Linked DNA regions of Homo sapiens: region 2 is linked to region 1. The links are contacts of gene promoters, found by promoter capture Hi-C in blood cells and fetal thymus (Javierre and others, 2016). All regions are on one chromosome and are shown on one strand. Each heading gives the region's core, a stretch centred on a gene start or on the middle of the fragment in contact. The rest is flanking DNA. Distances are from core to core; before and after follow the strand shown. Region 1 holds the start of NUP160 (nucleoporin 160). Region 2 overlaps CKAP5 (cytoskeleton associated protein 5).

Region 1 (7,726 bases), core at 1,822-4,321:
GGCACAAGCCTGTGGCCCCAGCTACTCGAGAGGCTGAGGCAGGAGGATCACCTCAGCCCAGGAGTTTGAGGCTGCAATGAGCTGGGATCACATCACTGCACCCCAGCCTGGATAACAGAGCAAGATTATGTGTCAGAAAAAAGAAATAGCAGTTTAGTATTAGACAGATAATGTGGATGCCATTGATAACCCGGAAAAAAGCAGTTTCAGCAAGGCAGTAGAAGCAAAAGCCTGAAAAACATGGATTTAATGAGGCCAGATGCAGTGGCTCACGCCTGTAATCCCAGCACTTTGGGAGGCCGAGGCAAGTGGATCACTTGAGGTAAGGAGTTCGAGACCAGCCTGACCAACATGGTGAAACCCTGTCTCTACTAAAAATACAAAAAACATTACCCAGGCAGGGCAGCGCATGCCTGTAATCACAGCTACTTGGGAGGCTGAGGCAGGAGAATCTCTTGAACCCAGGAGGCGGAGGTTGCAGTGAGCCGAGATTGTGCCATTGCACTCCAGCCTGGCCAACAATAGCGAAACTCCATCTCAATAAAATATATATATATATATATATATATATATATATATATATATATATATATATATGAGAATGAGAGAGAAGGAATTAAAACACTCTTGAGTTTTGCTGTGGGTGAGAGGAGAAGAGATATGGAGTAGTAGCTGCAGAGAGTGGAGGTCGAGGGAATGTTTGTATGCTTAGTACATACAGTACTAAGAGAAAAGGGGAAAAGACTGAAAATGGAAATAATTGAATTGCTAGAATGATGTCCTTGAGCAGGTGTTCTAAGGAAGTAGAAAGGTTGTCTCTGCATAAGCTCAGAGACAGTTTATAGTAACAGGAAGGGAAGGCAAAATATGTGGTTACAGATGCTGGTAGGTGGGGAGATGTCATTATAGAGGAAGTCCTCCCTTCCTCCTTCCTTCTTTCCAGATGGGTGTCTTTCTGGCCATGCTGGAGCACAGTGGCAGGATTGTAGCTCACTGTATCCTCCAACTCCTGGGCTCAAGAAACCTCCTATAGCTGGGACTACAGAGGCACACAACTATGCCTGGCTAGTTTTTTAAAAATTTTTATTAGAGATGGGGGTATGTTGCCCAGGCTTGTCTTGAACTCCTGGCCTCAAGCCATCCTTCCATCTCAGCCTCTGCTTTAATTTTCTAAATGAAGAAGCAAGCTGAGAGTCAGGATGACAAAGGAGGCAATGGAGGTTATAGGAGTTATGAAATATTCATTTAGAACAGTAAATGGAGAAGGCAAATACAATGTGTTTGCTGGGCAGCATTATGGGCCCACTCAAGGTACATGGTCCTGATGGAGTTACAGGGAGGCATGTCAGTATGGGTGTATAGTTTTCTGTTTTCTTTCTTTTCTTTTTTTGAGACGGAGTTTCGCTCTTGTTGCCCAGGCTGGAGTGCAACGGCGAGATCTTGGCTCACTGTAACCTCCACCTTCCGGGTTCAAGCGATTCTCCTGCCTCAGCTTCCCAAGTAGCCGGGATTACATGAGCGCACCATCATGCCCAGCTAATTTTTCTTTTTTTCTTTCTTCTTTTTTTTTTTTTTTTTGAGACAGTCTCGCTTTGTCACCCAGGCTGGAGTGCAGTGGCGCGATCTTGGCTCGCTGCAACCTCCACCTCCCAGGTTCAAGCGATTCTCCTGCCTCAGCCTCCCGAGTAGCTGGGATTACAGGCGTGCACCACCATGCCCGGCTAATTTTTTGTATCTTTAATAGAGACAGGGTTTCACCATGTTGGCCAGGTTGGTCTGAAACTCCTTACCTCGTGATCCACCCACCTCTGCCTCCCAGAGCGCTGGGATTACAGGCGTGAGCCACCGCGCCCGGCTAATTTTTCTATTTTTGGTAGAGACCGGGTTTCACCATGTTGGCCAGGCTGGTCTCGGACTCCTGACCTCAAGTGATCCTCACGCCTTGGCCTCCCAAAATGCTGGGAGCCACGCCCGACCCGGGTGTATAGTTTTCTCCAGTCATGTTCAGCTACAGATTTGAATGTAGTCGAAGTTGTAGTTTTTACCGATGAAGAGTTAGGCAATGAAGTAATTTAATGGTATTCAGGATAAGAAAGAAACACCAAAGAAGTGTGGGACAGTGAAGATTTTGTAGAACAATGGATTCCAGGTAGAATGAGGGGACTGCACTGCCAAAGTTGGTGTCCCAGAGGGAGTGAAGTGGAAAGATAGAAAATGATGGTCGGAACCAGATAAATGAAACGGAGAATGACAGGGAATGGTTGTGGTCACTGGTAATAGAAGTGCTTTAACTTCTATTGGCTATCACTAAGGAACAAAACCTTCCCCGCTGGAGATTAGCATTTTCCTCGATTTTGAACATCTACTCCCACAATATCTTCTAAACACCCACTATGGGCCCTTACTGCATTGACAGCCAAGTGCAAGATCACGGGTGGAAGGAATGGCAAATTCCTTTCACGTATCCAAGTGAGTAGCACTCAGGTAACCTCAGCAAGTGGCAGCACCAAGGTTTACCACATTACGTTTCATTATACAGGAATACACGAATACAGTCTCTTGGGGAGGGGAAAGACCAAAACCAAAGGCCTTTCCCTCACTACCCCTTCCTCACCCCGCCATCCCAAGTGTCGCCACTGAAGAGCGAAGGGAGGATCGCCAAAGATTTACAGACGGACACCCTAACCGAGGGAGAGGTGACCATAAACCCGGGATCCGGCAGAGGACGCCGAAAGGCCGGGACTCCCCGGACCTCGCCCCTCCTGGTCGACTGAGCCCCGCGTTTTAGAAACAGAAACAAACCCGGCCCCGCCCCCTGCCCTGCGGCCGCTGAGAAAAGAGCACCGCCCTCCGGAGGCGTTCCAGCCGGCCACTGGAAGGTTCCCGCAGATAGAGTCTGCCTCCCCTGCCCCCTTCTCTTCTGGATTCCTCGCTGCCCACCCTCATTCTCCCGGTGGAAGCCTCGCAACGAAGGGCCGGAGCCGCCTTTCTGCTCCCGGAATGCTTCACCTGTCCGCAGCTCCGCCCGCCCCACCCCCGGAAGTGACGGCGACCGCGCGGCCCTGCCTTTGTTCCGTTGGGCGTCGCGGCGACGGCGGGAAGATGGCGGCGGCGGGAGCCCTGGAACGGAGCTTCGTGGAGCTAAGCGGAGCTGAGCGCGAAAGGCCGAGGCACTTTCGGGAATTCACAGTCTGCAGCATTGGTACGGAAATGGCCAGGGAGGGTGCGATCCCATCTGTCCCCTCGGGCTCCTCTCATGGGTCCCAGGGTCCCTGACGCCCTGTTTCATCCTCCTGAGTCCACATGCCTCTAGCCCCGGGATCAGAGATTCCTTGATGTCCGACGTTTTCCTCTTTTCTTTGTATGGGTTGTCAGTCTGTCACTCTCTGCTTTGTCAGCTCCCTTAGTCCCTGTCATTTCTCAGAAGACGCGTGTGCAGGCTGACCACGTTCATTTTGCAGGGACTGCAAATGCCGTGGCTGGCGCCGTAAAATACAGTGAAAGCGCGGGAGGCTTTTACTACGTGGAGAGTGGCAAGTTGTTCTCCGTAACCAGAAACAGGTTCATTCATTGGTAAGTGTTGTGGTTCGCCAAACTCCCCTGGAAGGTAGGGTTTGGTGTATAAATTTTCGTCGCTGTACCCAAAGTGCTATTCTAGAAGCGGTAATTGACACTTAGGGAAAGAGAAAGATTGTTTTTTCAGTTCGTATCAGAATCGGGAAAACTGAGACACAGAGTTCTAGAAGAGATACCTCTCCCCCTCCCCCCCCCCACCCCCACACACACATACACCAAGCAACACCAGAAGCAGAGGAAATGTAGCTTAGGGGAATAAAGCCCATAAGACCAATTTTAAACATGAACCCGTTATGTTTTTATAGTGCTTTACAGCTTCCTTCATTGTACAAATACGTTCGAGCTTCAATATGTCAGGCATTGTGCTAGGTACCAGGACGAAATGAACAAAACTGCAATTTTCATCATGCAAGACGTTGTAGCAATGTCAGAATAGATGTAGACCCACTTTTCATGGGGAAATTTTTTGGAGGAAAACTTGCCCTAGAGGAAAAATATACGGGTTATGAGAGGCTAATAAGAGGACCAAATATAATTAGTGGGGCAGGGAAAGGCTTTAAGGAATTCACAGTTACCCTGAGATCTAAAGGACACGAGGTTAGCCAGGCATGGGGAGTGGACAGAGAGGAGTCCAGCAAGTAGGATCACCATATGCAAAGGTCATGAAGTGGAAAGAATGTGGCGGGTTTGGAACTGACCAAAGATCTGTGTGGCTTAAGTGCAGTGGGTAAAACAGAAAGTGATGTGAGATACTGAGGCTGGAGAGGTAGGCAGGACTCGGACCATGAGGGACCCTTAGGCCATTTTTAAGGATTTTTGGATTTTATCCTAAGTACATTGAGTAATAATTGAAAGATTTTTAAAGAGTTACTAACATCAAAATTGCATTTTTGGATGGGAACAGTTAACACTAGGGATTCCAAAAGGAGGGAGGGAGGGGAGCAAAGGTTGGAAAACCTATCGGATACTGTGTTCACAACTTGGGCGGCAGGATCATCAGAAGCCCAAACCTCATGTATATAGGAATATACACACAATATACTCATGTAACAAACCTGCACATGTACCCCTGAATCTAAATTTTTTTAAATGTATTTTTAGAAGATCTCAGTCTACTTTGTGGAAAGTGGATTTGGATTAGATGGGTATAATACAAAAAAAATTTTGCTTTTATCATGGCCCAAGTAAGGGTTGCTGGTGGCTCAATTGTGGGAATGACTAGAAATAGAAAAGTAGATGGATTCAAGATACCTTTGGAAGATAGATTCACTAGGGCTTGGTGGTGGATTGAATATGGGGTAAGGGATGGTAAAAGAAGAGAGAACAAGGACAGCTCCCTGGTGTCTCATGTGACTAACCAGATGTGAGTGGGGAGGGGTTGCCATTTACAGAGATACCCGGAAGATGGATTTTGGATAGATATGAATAATTCTATTGGACATAGTAAATTTGAAGTACCTGGGGAGCAGCCCTTTGGAAATGTCAAGTAGGCATTGAAGTTTACAGGTCTAAGGCTCAAAAGAGTGACTTTATGTTAGAGATACAAATTTCATTTAATTAAATATTTTGGCTGGGCACAGTGGCTCACACCTGTAATCCCAGCACTTTGGGGGGCTGAGGTGGGAGGATCTCTTGAGGCCGGGAGTTCAAGACCCCATTTCTACAAAAAAAATTTTTTTTTCTTTCTGCTTTTTTTTTTTTTTCTTTTTGAGAGACAGTCTGGCTCCATTGTCCAGGCTGGAGTGCATTGGTGCAATTATGGCTTACTGCAGTCTCCGCCTCCTGGGTTCAAGTGACCCTCCCACCTCAGCCTCCCAAGTAGCTGGAATTACAAGTATGCACCACCATGCCCAGCTAATTTTTCTATTTGTTTTTGTAGAGATGGGGTTTTGCCTTGTTGTCCAGACTGGTCTTGAACTGCCAGACTCAAGCAGTGCCCCGTTCTCGGCCTCCCAACTTGCTAGGATTACAGGCGTAAGCCACCGTGTCCAGCCTGATTTTTTAAAATAAGCCAGGCGGAGTAGCGTGTGCCTTTCATCTTAACTACTCAGGAGGCTGAGGTGGGAGGATCCGATCATGCCACTGCACTCCAGGTGGGAAAAAGGGTAAGACCCCATCTCTTTTAAGAAAACAGGAAGAAAGAAAGAAAATTTGCTTGCCTAATGTATTTCAGTCCGTTTTTAGGGAACAGGGATATAGCAGGGAACAAAACAAAGTCCCTACTCTTATGGAGGAAGATAGGCAACAACAACAATAACCAAAAAACCCCAAGTACATGCAGTTTTGTTACAGGAAAAGGGTGCCGATCCAGACCCCAAGGGAGGGTTCTTGGATCTCGCACAAGAAAGAATTCAGGGCAAGTCCGCAGTGCATAGTGAAAGCAAGTTTATTAAGAAAGTAAAGGAAGCCAGGCATGGTGGCTCACACCTGTAATCCCAGTACTTTAGGAGGCCGAGGCAGGTGGATCACCTGAGGTCAGGAGTTCGAGACCAGCCTGACCAACATGGTGAAACCGTGTCTCTACTAAAAATACAAAATTAGCTGGGCATGATGGCACATGCCTATAATCCCAGCTACTTGGGAGGCTGAGGCAGGAGAATAGCTTGAACCCAGGAGGTGGAGGGTGCAGTGAGCTGAGATCACACCATTGCACTCCAGCCTGGGCAACAAGAGCAAAACTGCATCTCAAAAAAAAATGTAAATAAAAGAATGGCTACTCCATAGACAGAGTAGCTCCGAGGGCTGCTGGTTGCCCATTTTTATGGTTATTTCTTGATGATATGCTAAACAGGGGTGGATTATTCATGCCCCCACTTTTTAGACTCCTGATGTAACTTCCTGATGTTGCCATGGCATTTGTAAACTGTCATGGCGTTGATGGGAGTGTAGCAGTGAGGACAACTGGAGGTCACCCTTGTCGCCATTTTGGTTTTGGTGGGTTTTGGCTTGCTCCTTTATTGCAACCTGTTTTATCAGCAAGGTCTTTATGACCTGTATTTTGTGCTGACCTCCTATCTCATCCTGTGACTTAGAATGCCTTAACTGTCTGGGAATGCATCCCAGTAGGTTTCAGTCTTGTTTTACCCAACTCCTATTCAAGATGGAGTTGTTCTGGTTCACATGCCTCTGACAGTTTGTCAGTTGATTAATGGAATAGGAAAAAGGGAACAGCATAAGAGGGAAGAGGAATACCTGTGGGAGTTAATGTTTTATGTAGGGTGGTTGGGCAAGAGCCAGGGGTAAGCTGACATTTGAGCAGAAGAAAGGATATCTGGGGAATGAGTATTTCAGGTGGAGCCTTCCAAGAAAAAGGAATAAAAAGTGCAAAGAACCCTGAAACAGGAGCCTGTTGTGTTCAAAGAGTGGAAAGGAGCCAGGAGTCTGCAGCTGAGTGAACAAAGGGTAGAATAATAAGAAAGAGATAGTTGAGGGCCAGATCAGGGCTTTGTTGGTTATTTTAAGCTTTGGCTTTTGCTCTGAGTAAGATGAGAAGAAGCTGTGGAAGGTTAAAGTGGAGGAATGACGTGATCTAAGATCTGGGCTTCTAAAGGATTGCTTTGACTGCTGTCTTGAGAATAGAGCGTGGTGGGGGAAAGGGTAGGTGCAGGGAGACCAGTTAGGAGGCTGGTGCCACAATTCACACATGATGGTGGCTTAGATCAGGGTGGTAGTGACAGAGGCAGTGAGAAATGTTGTGATTGTGGATATGTTTTCAAGGTGAATTTGTTAGAATTACTGTTGCATTGGATGGGGAGTATACAGAAAGAAAAGAGTCACAGGTGAGCCCTAGATTTTTGGCTTGAGCAATTGGAAGTTAGGGAGATGTCATTAATTGCGATGGAAAAACGTATAGGTGAAGCAGGTACTTTTGTTTTCTTCAGGTTCAGTGAGTCCAGGAGTTCTGTTTTGGACAGGTGTAATCTGAGATGCCTGATAGATATCCAAGTGAGTGTTGAGACAGTAGTCAGGAGTTGAGTGGAGAAGTTGGGCTAAAGATACAGATTGTGAAATTGTTGGCATTAGATCGTGCTTAAAGCTGTTCTACTGAATGAGATCACCTAGAAAGTGAGAATAAATTAGGATTTTTCACCTTCTGCACTATTATTGTCAGCTAAGTCTTCATTGTGGAAGGCTGTCCTGTATGCTATAG
Region 2 (7,726 bases), core at 1,795-4,294, 1.0 Mb after region 1:
CCCCTAGGAAAGAATCTGTTCCTTGCCTCTTCCAGCTTCTGGTGGCTGCTGGCACTCCTAGGCCTGTGGCCATCTTTCTCTACTCTATTCTAATTTTTTTTTTTTTTTTTTTTTTTTGAGACGGAGTCTTGCTCTGTTGCCCAGGCTGGAGTGCGGTGGTGCCATCTCGGCTCACTGCAAGCTCTGCCTCCCAGGTTCATGCCATTCTCTTGCCTCAGCCTCCCGAGTAGCTGGGACTACAGGTGCCTGCCACCACGCCCGGCTAATTTTTTGTATTTTTAGTAGAGACGGGGTTTCACCGTGTTAGCCAGGATGGTTTCGACCTCCTGACCTTGTGATCTGCCTGCCTTGGACTCCCAAAGTTCTGGGATTGCAGGCGTGAGCCACCGTGCCCGGCCTACTCTATTCTAATCTTTCTCTGATCCCTCTTCATATCACTTTCTCCATTGGGTCAAATCTCCCTCCGTCTTGCCCATAATGATATATGTGATTGCCTTTACCCACCCAAACAATCCAGGGTAATCCCCCCATCTCAAGATCCTTAATTTAATCACATCTGCAAAGACCCTTTTTCCAAATAAAGTAACATTTACAAGTCCCAGGGATTACAACGTGATTTCTTTGGGGGTCATTATCAGCCTACACAAATGCATATGTAAATGTGTATGTGAGATACACACACACACACACACACACACACACACACACACACACACACATACAAAAAAGGAATTAGACTTCATATACTGTCTTGCAAATTTCTTCTTAAAACTTAATGGATTTCTTCCACATAGGCACATTTGACCCTTGAGCAATGCCAACGTTAGGGATCCCCCTGTGCAGTGGGAACTTCACATATAATTTTAGACACCCCCAAAACTTTACTAATAGCCTACTGTTGACCAGAAGCCTTATTGATAACATAATTGTTTAACACATATTTTGTATATGTATTATATATTGTATTCTTACAGTAAAGTAAGCTAGAGAAAAGAAAATGTTAAGAAAATCAGAAGGAGGAAAAATATTTTTTCTCGCTCCATCGTTCAGGGTGGAGTGTTGTGGTCCCCTCTTGGCTCACTCTTTCTGGGCTCAGGCAATCCTTCTACCTTAGCCTCCCGAGTAGCTGGGACTAACAGGCATGTGCCACCAGGCCCAGATAATTTTTTGTATTTATTTTTAGAGACAGTAAGTAGACTGTCTTTTAAGTAAAGTAAGACTTTATTGCCCAGTAAGTAGAAAATATATTTACTATTCATTAAATGGAAGTGGATCATCATAAAGGTCTTCATCCTTGTCATCCTCATGTCGAATAGGCTGAGGAAGAGGAGGGGTTGGTCTTGCTGTCTTAAGGGTGACAGGGGCAGAAGAAAATTCACATGCAAGTCAACCCGTGCAGTTCAAATCCATGTTGTTCAAGGGTCAACTGTATTTATATATTTACTTCTGTCTTCCATATCATCTTTTGTTTACTTTAAATATTTGCAAAGCAATTTTTGTATAGACGAATGTCTCATTTTTTGTGTATGGTAAAAAACAATAGTATAAAATTTACCATCTTAACCATTTTTAAGTGTACAGTTCAATAGTGTTAAGTATATTCACATCGTTATGAAACAGATCTCCAGAACTTTCTCATCTTGCTAATCTGAAACTCTGTATCTAAATATTTCTCTTATCCCCCTCCCAAGCCACACCCCCACCCCATCTTTGGTTACTACCATTCTACTTTCTGGTTCTATGAATTCATGAATTTGACTGCATACCTCATAAAAGTGGGTTCATACAGTATTTGACTTTTTTTGTGACTGTTAGTAGATTTTTTTCTCTAATTTTTAAAATGTTTAATTCGCTCATAAGCACAGCACAGGGTATTATCCATTTGTGTGTGCATACACACATACACTCATTGTACTATGTTTATTGCAGTTAACTGAAGTCCTATGTCACTAGAATGCTATGTAACAGAAAATGTTGGTCATACCTCTTGTGATAAATATTTGTTGGGTACTTATTTTGTATCACACATTGGAAGAAAAAGATAATTAAGATACATTCCAGCCCTTGCCCTTGAGGAACTCACAATCTGATGAGAAAGGCTGATCTGCAAACCATTACCCTCAGAACAGTTAAGCTTGATGGGAATATAATGAATGAAGGTCTTAATTACCTAATTCAGAGGTATTCTTTACAGTTAAATGCATTGTAGAATGAGACTGTCTTGGCAGTTCAAAAATCAGACTGTTTTAATCTGAATCCATTTTTTACTTGGCAACTTTATTTATTTATCTACCCCGCCCCCACCCAAGTAAGGAAAAGATACTTGGCAACTTTAGCTTAGGGTTCTCTAAAACCTTCAGAATAAGAGTAACCTGAGTCTGCTCCCTGGTGGAGCAATCTTCATAACTGTTCTTTGGATTCTTAAATTTCTGCTTTATTCCTGTTGTGGATAGGAGAAATTGGGTTACTTACAAATGGTCTTTAAGCTTACTACATTGATTCCTGTACTGATCTGATGATGGCCCAAGGCTTTAAGGAGGTGTGTTGATTCATCTAAATTAGGTGGAGTAATATGGACTTAAAAAAAGCACATATCTTTCCTGTTGGTATGATGGGAGACACAAAATGCAGTCAAACCTTGTAAACTAGGATTCAGGACAAACTCCTCCTACAAAAAGAAAATTAAAACTAGTTGCTAACCTTTGGAGATCTCAGAGACTAGGACTTAACTCCTTGAAATATTAATGCCGTTTCTACTACAATTTTCTTAAGAACTCTTCATATTAAATTAGATGATTGCACATTACAATTGTATTGGCATGCAAGATTACTTACATAGACTTGTACATTTATTTACGTTGACTTTTAGGTCAATTTTTGAAAGATCACATTTTACACACAAGATGGGGAAGGTTATTTTTCTTTTTTTCTTTTATAGAGGTATGGTTTTGGTTAGTTGTTCAGGGTGGAGTGCTGTGGTGCAGTCTGGCTCACTGCAGCCTAGTCCTGGGCTCAGGATCCTCCCACCTCAGCCTCCGGAGTAGCTGGGACTAGTCTTGTACCACCATGCCCAGCTAATTTTTTATTTTTTGTAGAGATGGGGTCTCACTTTGTTGCCCAGGCTGGTATTTTTCTATTTCACCTTCTATTACCTTCCTGCCCATCTTGTATCATTGTCCAGGATTCCTCCAGTTTTGTAAAGAACGAATTCCGTGAAAAGGTGAGGTGGAGCATTGTAGGATCTTTTCCAGGCCTTTGAGTTGCCATTTGAAGAACTGCTCGAGTCCAAAGGAGGTTAATGAAGTAAGCAGCTTACATATAATGAGGGGCTATGTATCTACCTTGATGCTTTGGCTGTTACCTGCAGTAATTTTTTTCACCCTTGGAGGAGGGATTAGGATTGTGATAGTGGGAACTGGTCATCTCCTTTGTTTCTGGAATATTACGTGTAATACTACCAAAAAAAGAGGTCCACCCAACTGCAGTAGTCTTCCTAGTTGGTCCATCATTTGCCTCTTGCCTGGGAAAGCCTAGGACCTAGAAGCAGCGCCTGAGGCCTGCAAACCTCTGGGCGAAGATACACTGCGGCCCCTTTAAGCTTTCAGAGTGTGCGGAGAGGGGAGCTGAGGGTGGGGCGGGCACTCTGACAGTGGCGCTCCGGGCCCCGCCCTCGGAGGAGGCGTTTCCCAGCGGACCGCAGCACCAATGCTGCTGCCGCCGCCGCCGCCGCCTGCCGGGTATTCCTGCTGATCCTGCTCGGACCTTAGCTTCCCTGACCTCTCCCTGCCCGGGGAGCGTAAGTGTCAAACCACGGGCAAAGGGCAAGCATCCCGCGACCGTGCTGCAAGTCCTGGTGGACAGTACTGGGGACTTTGCTGGCCTATCAGAGGCTAAGGCGGCGAAAGAGCGTAAACAATGCCGGCTCCAGTGAGCTAAAGCCAGGGTATCTGCTCTACTTCTGGGTGGTGACAGCAGCCGTAGGGTGCTTGTTTGGGCATGCAGTGGGTGAGCAGTGCCCACGACCTGGCTTTGCCCCCACCTGGTTCTTACTTGGGGTGAGGAGAGGGTTGCTTTTACCAGAGTATAACCCATTTGAGCTGAATGGGTGGAGCTGAATCTCTCTCTCTGGGCCTTGGATCCTTACCCTGGTATTTGAAGACCTTGGTAGCTTTGGGATGAGTAAGCATTAGGTTTTCAGCTACCTTGGTACAGTCGAGCAGTAACTCCAAGTTGTCCTAATTCACAGCCAGGTTTAGCTGTCTCTCCAGAGGCCTGTGTTGGTGGTATCCCGTACCCCTTTTGGATATGTTGACAGTGAACATCTCTTAGGAAGAGTCCAGTTAACCTTTCCTCCTGATATAAAGAGCACAATGTGAAAGAGACAGCTCTTTACCCCTCTCCATCTCTGAAGGAATTTGTGGGACGCCACTGTCCCAAGATTAGGAAAGCAAACACACCAAAGTTTGAGATAATCTGCTAGAAAACTGTTCAGATTTCTGGCCGCCTGGTAATGCAGAATACTCCGGCAAGAGGATAACACTTGTCCTTGTTAATGGGAAATACCTGGAGACAGTGAGTTTTTTTTTTAATTTGAGGGAAAGTGTTGTCATTTTTGCCACCTGCTACTCAGAGATGGGATTTTGTCAGATTTTGGTTAAATAATAAAAATCTTAAGTTTTCTATGACAGTTACATAGTTGTTGTGTTTCTTTAATCCAGTTGTCCTTCCTAGACATGGTTTGAGTAGATTTCTGGGCATGTGTATGCATTGCTTTTTTAAAAAAATAATTTCTTTTTTTTTTTTTATGAGCCTATCATCACACTCAGTGGTCATTCAAATGGGTTGCTTTTTGATGGAGCAGAAGTTTTTCTCAAACTTCTGTTAAAATCATTCTGTGCTTCTGCAATAGCATCTCCTTAGCCAGAGGTGAGAGTCCAGGAATGGTAATCAAATTCAGATCTCTTGTATTGTGATAGTGAAGAGCTTTTGTAGGTCAAGAGCTTGGGAATTTGCCATAAAAAAGTCATACTGCCAGTGGTTTTTCTCTAAGTAGAAGAGAAAATAATCTGTACAGTAGCTCTGTAATTACTCTTATAGACTATCAAAATACAGGAATTTAAACTAAAAAGACACCACACTTGGGCCCATGGGTTGTAGGGAAGAGAGACAGACTGAGAAGTAGGAGACATAGGTTCTAGGCCCAGCTCTAGTATTACTCATGACTTAATCTCTCTGTCCCTTTTAAATGGTTGGTTAATGAGAAAATGCACAGATTTTGGGGTCTCTTTTATGATGGGATATAGTGCATATTTAATAGGAAATTTGTTATTTATTTGAACACTAAACTGAAAAATCAGACAATTTGGAATTTATTCTAAGTTCTGCCTTCATGTATAACCTTGAAAACATTTCTTAACCTCTAGTCTAAAAATAAACAATTATGCCTAAACCTTTTCAGCAATAGCATGGACTATATGGTATTTGAGCTCTTAGGAAGACATTTTTAGATCAGTGGTATATGATTATAATATATCTGTAAAACATACTTACTTTAGCTGACCTACTTGTCTTTGCCTCAGTTTTAGACTGGGATAAAATCTGAGAGCTCTGAATAATTGAAATTTCTGAATATGTGTCTTTACTAGGGACTAGATCAAATAAACCACAGCAAGCATTATGTATAGTTCAAATTAATCTTCTTAATGCTTCTCTTTGTTGGCAATTTTATTTGCTCTTTAGGCATCAAACTCTACTGTGTAGCAAAAACTTGGTTCTTATATCTGTTTATAAAATCCAGATCAGTCTGCTCATCCCTATATGATACTTTTAACTTTTTGAGAAACTTCCAAATGGTTTTACACAGCAGCTAGACCATTTTGCATTCACAGCAGCTGGACCATTTGGCATTCAACTTAAAAAATACAGAGGTATAATAATTTTTATTGTATTTTACAGACATACTAGTATTCAGTTGGTGGGGGTGGTAGGGGGAAGACTGGTCCTGAGTTTGAAAAGCACAGTTTGATGAACATGTGAACTGTTTCCAGCTTTTGACTACTATGAACAACATTGCTATGACTATCCCTATATAGGTCTTCTGGTGTAATTTGCATCAGTTTCTAGGCTATACACCTAGGAATGGAGTTGCTGGGTGGTAGGGCATGTGTATCTGATAATGCCATACTGTTTTCCAGACTGTTAAACTATTCTGTCTCCCATCATTGGTGTATTTGAGTTCCTGCAGATTCTCCTGACTCCTTTAAATTACACTGCTGCTGTTTCATGGCAATCCTAGGGATTTTGAAGAAAAATCTTAATGAAAGTTCCACATATCCTAATAAACTTTTACAATTCCATCTTTCTCTGGGACATTTTCTTCTTTGCCATGGGAGGGAACAAAATGTAAAGGAAGAAGCATAGACTATGAATCTTAGTTTAATTTCATTGCTTACCAGTTTTGTTGTTTTGGCAGGTTACTTAATATTTGTGAAGCTAGTGTGTAAAATGAGAATATCTTTCCTTCACATAGTTGATGTCAGTATAAAGTGAATTAGCGTGTTTAAAAAGTACTTTGCACCATGCCTGATTCAGAATAGATATTACCAGAGTATATATTCAATAAACAAATATTTATTGAAAACATATTTTATGTCAGGCCAGAACTAGGGATGGAGAATTACGGAGGACCGCTTCTATGTTATTAATAATATTGAAAAATCGGCCAGCCTGGGCAACATAGTAAGACCCCATCTCTACAAAAAACTAAAAAATTAGTTGGGCATGGTGACATGTGCCTGTAGTCCCAGCTCCTTGGGAGGCTAAGGCAGAAGAATCACTTGAACCCGGGAGGCGGAGGTTGGGAGGATCACTTGAGCCCAGGACATCAAGGTTGCAATGAGCTGTGATCACACCACTGCACTCCAGCCTGGGTGACAGAGTGAGACCCTGTCTCAAAAATGAAAAAGAAAAATTGGAAACAATTTAAATGTCCAATGGTAGGGTTGGTAATTATGGTACATTTGTAAAATGGAGTGCTATGTAGACTTTAAACATCATATTCTCAAATCTGGGAAAATGTTTGTGATCATATAACAAAAATGTTGTAAGGGGATTATGCCTGTCTTTTTCATATGATTTATATTACTACATGTGTATTGAAAAAAAACTGGATACGTACTTTAGTGTTCATCATGGTTATTAGGTGGTGGTAAAATTGTATTTTAATACTTAGATTTTTTTCTGTAGTTACTAAATTTTCTGCAGTTTACACACATTACTTTTATAAGAAAAAGGTGTTGTCTAGATAGATAGCATAGGGGTGGGTGCGGTGGCTCACGATCAGTGGGATCACTTGAGCCCAGGAGTTCGAGACCAGTCTGGGCAATATAACGAGACCTTGTCTCTACAAAAAATTTCAAAATTAGCCGAGCATGGTGGTGCACACCTGCAGTCCCACCAAATCCTAGCTACTCAGGAGGCAGAGGTGGAAGGATCGCTTGAGCCCAGGAGGCAGAGGTTGCAGCGAGCCAAGATCGTGTTCATTCCACTCCAGCCTGGACGACAGAGCAAGACGCTGTCTCAAAAAAAAGAAGATAGGTAGCATAAAGTTATTAAAAGGATGTTGACTTTAAACCTCACTTAAAAACATGGTTTACATAAAGAATATGTATAAAGGTTCATTCAGGGATTTAATTTTGTACTTGTTTATATAAACATTGACTAGTCA

The links. Contacts are between HindIII fragments. The CHiCAGO score rates a contact against its expected background, and 5 or more counts as called.
Region 2: a fragment that was not itself captured here is called in contact with the fragment with the promoter of NUP160 in region 1 in 1 of 17 cell types (fetal thymus); the score reaches 6.7 in fetal thymus.

Annotation. Positions count from the first base shown.
Region 1 is chr11:47,843,695-47,851,420 of GRCh38, reverse strand. NUP160 (nucleoporin 160) reads left to right here and starts at 3,071. Exons shown (of 36, transcript NM_015231.3): 1 at 3,071-3,202; 2 at 3,462-3,573. The coding sequence starts at 3,103. RefSeq lists enhancers at 982-1,031, 1,062-1,111, 2,574-3,133. The HindIII fragment of the contact is 7,211 bases long and covers 1-7,040 here.
Region 2 is chr11:46,822,832-46,830,557 of GRCh38, reverse strand. All of the region lies in intron 1 of CKAP5 (cytoskeleton associated protein 5), which reads left to right. Among named protein-coding and RNA genes, the nearest start is that of CKAP5, 20 kb to the left of the region's middle. RefSeq lists enhancers at 3,270-3,820, 3,821-4,373. The HindIII fragment of the contact is 1,112 bases long and covers 2,489-3,600 here.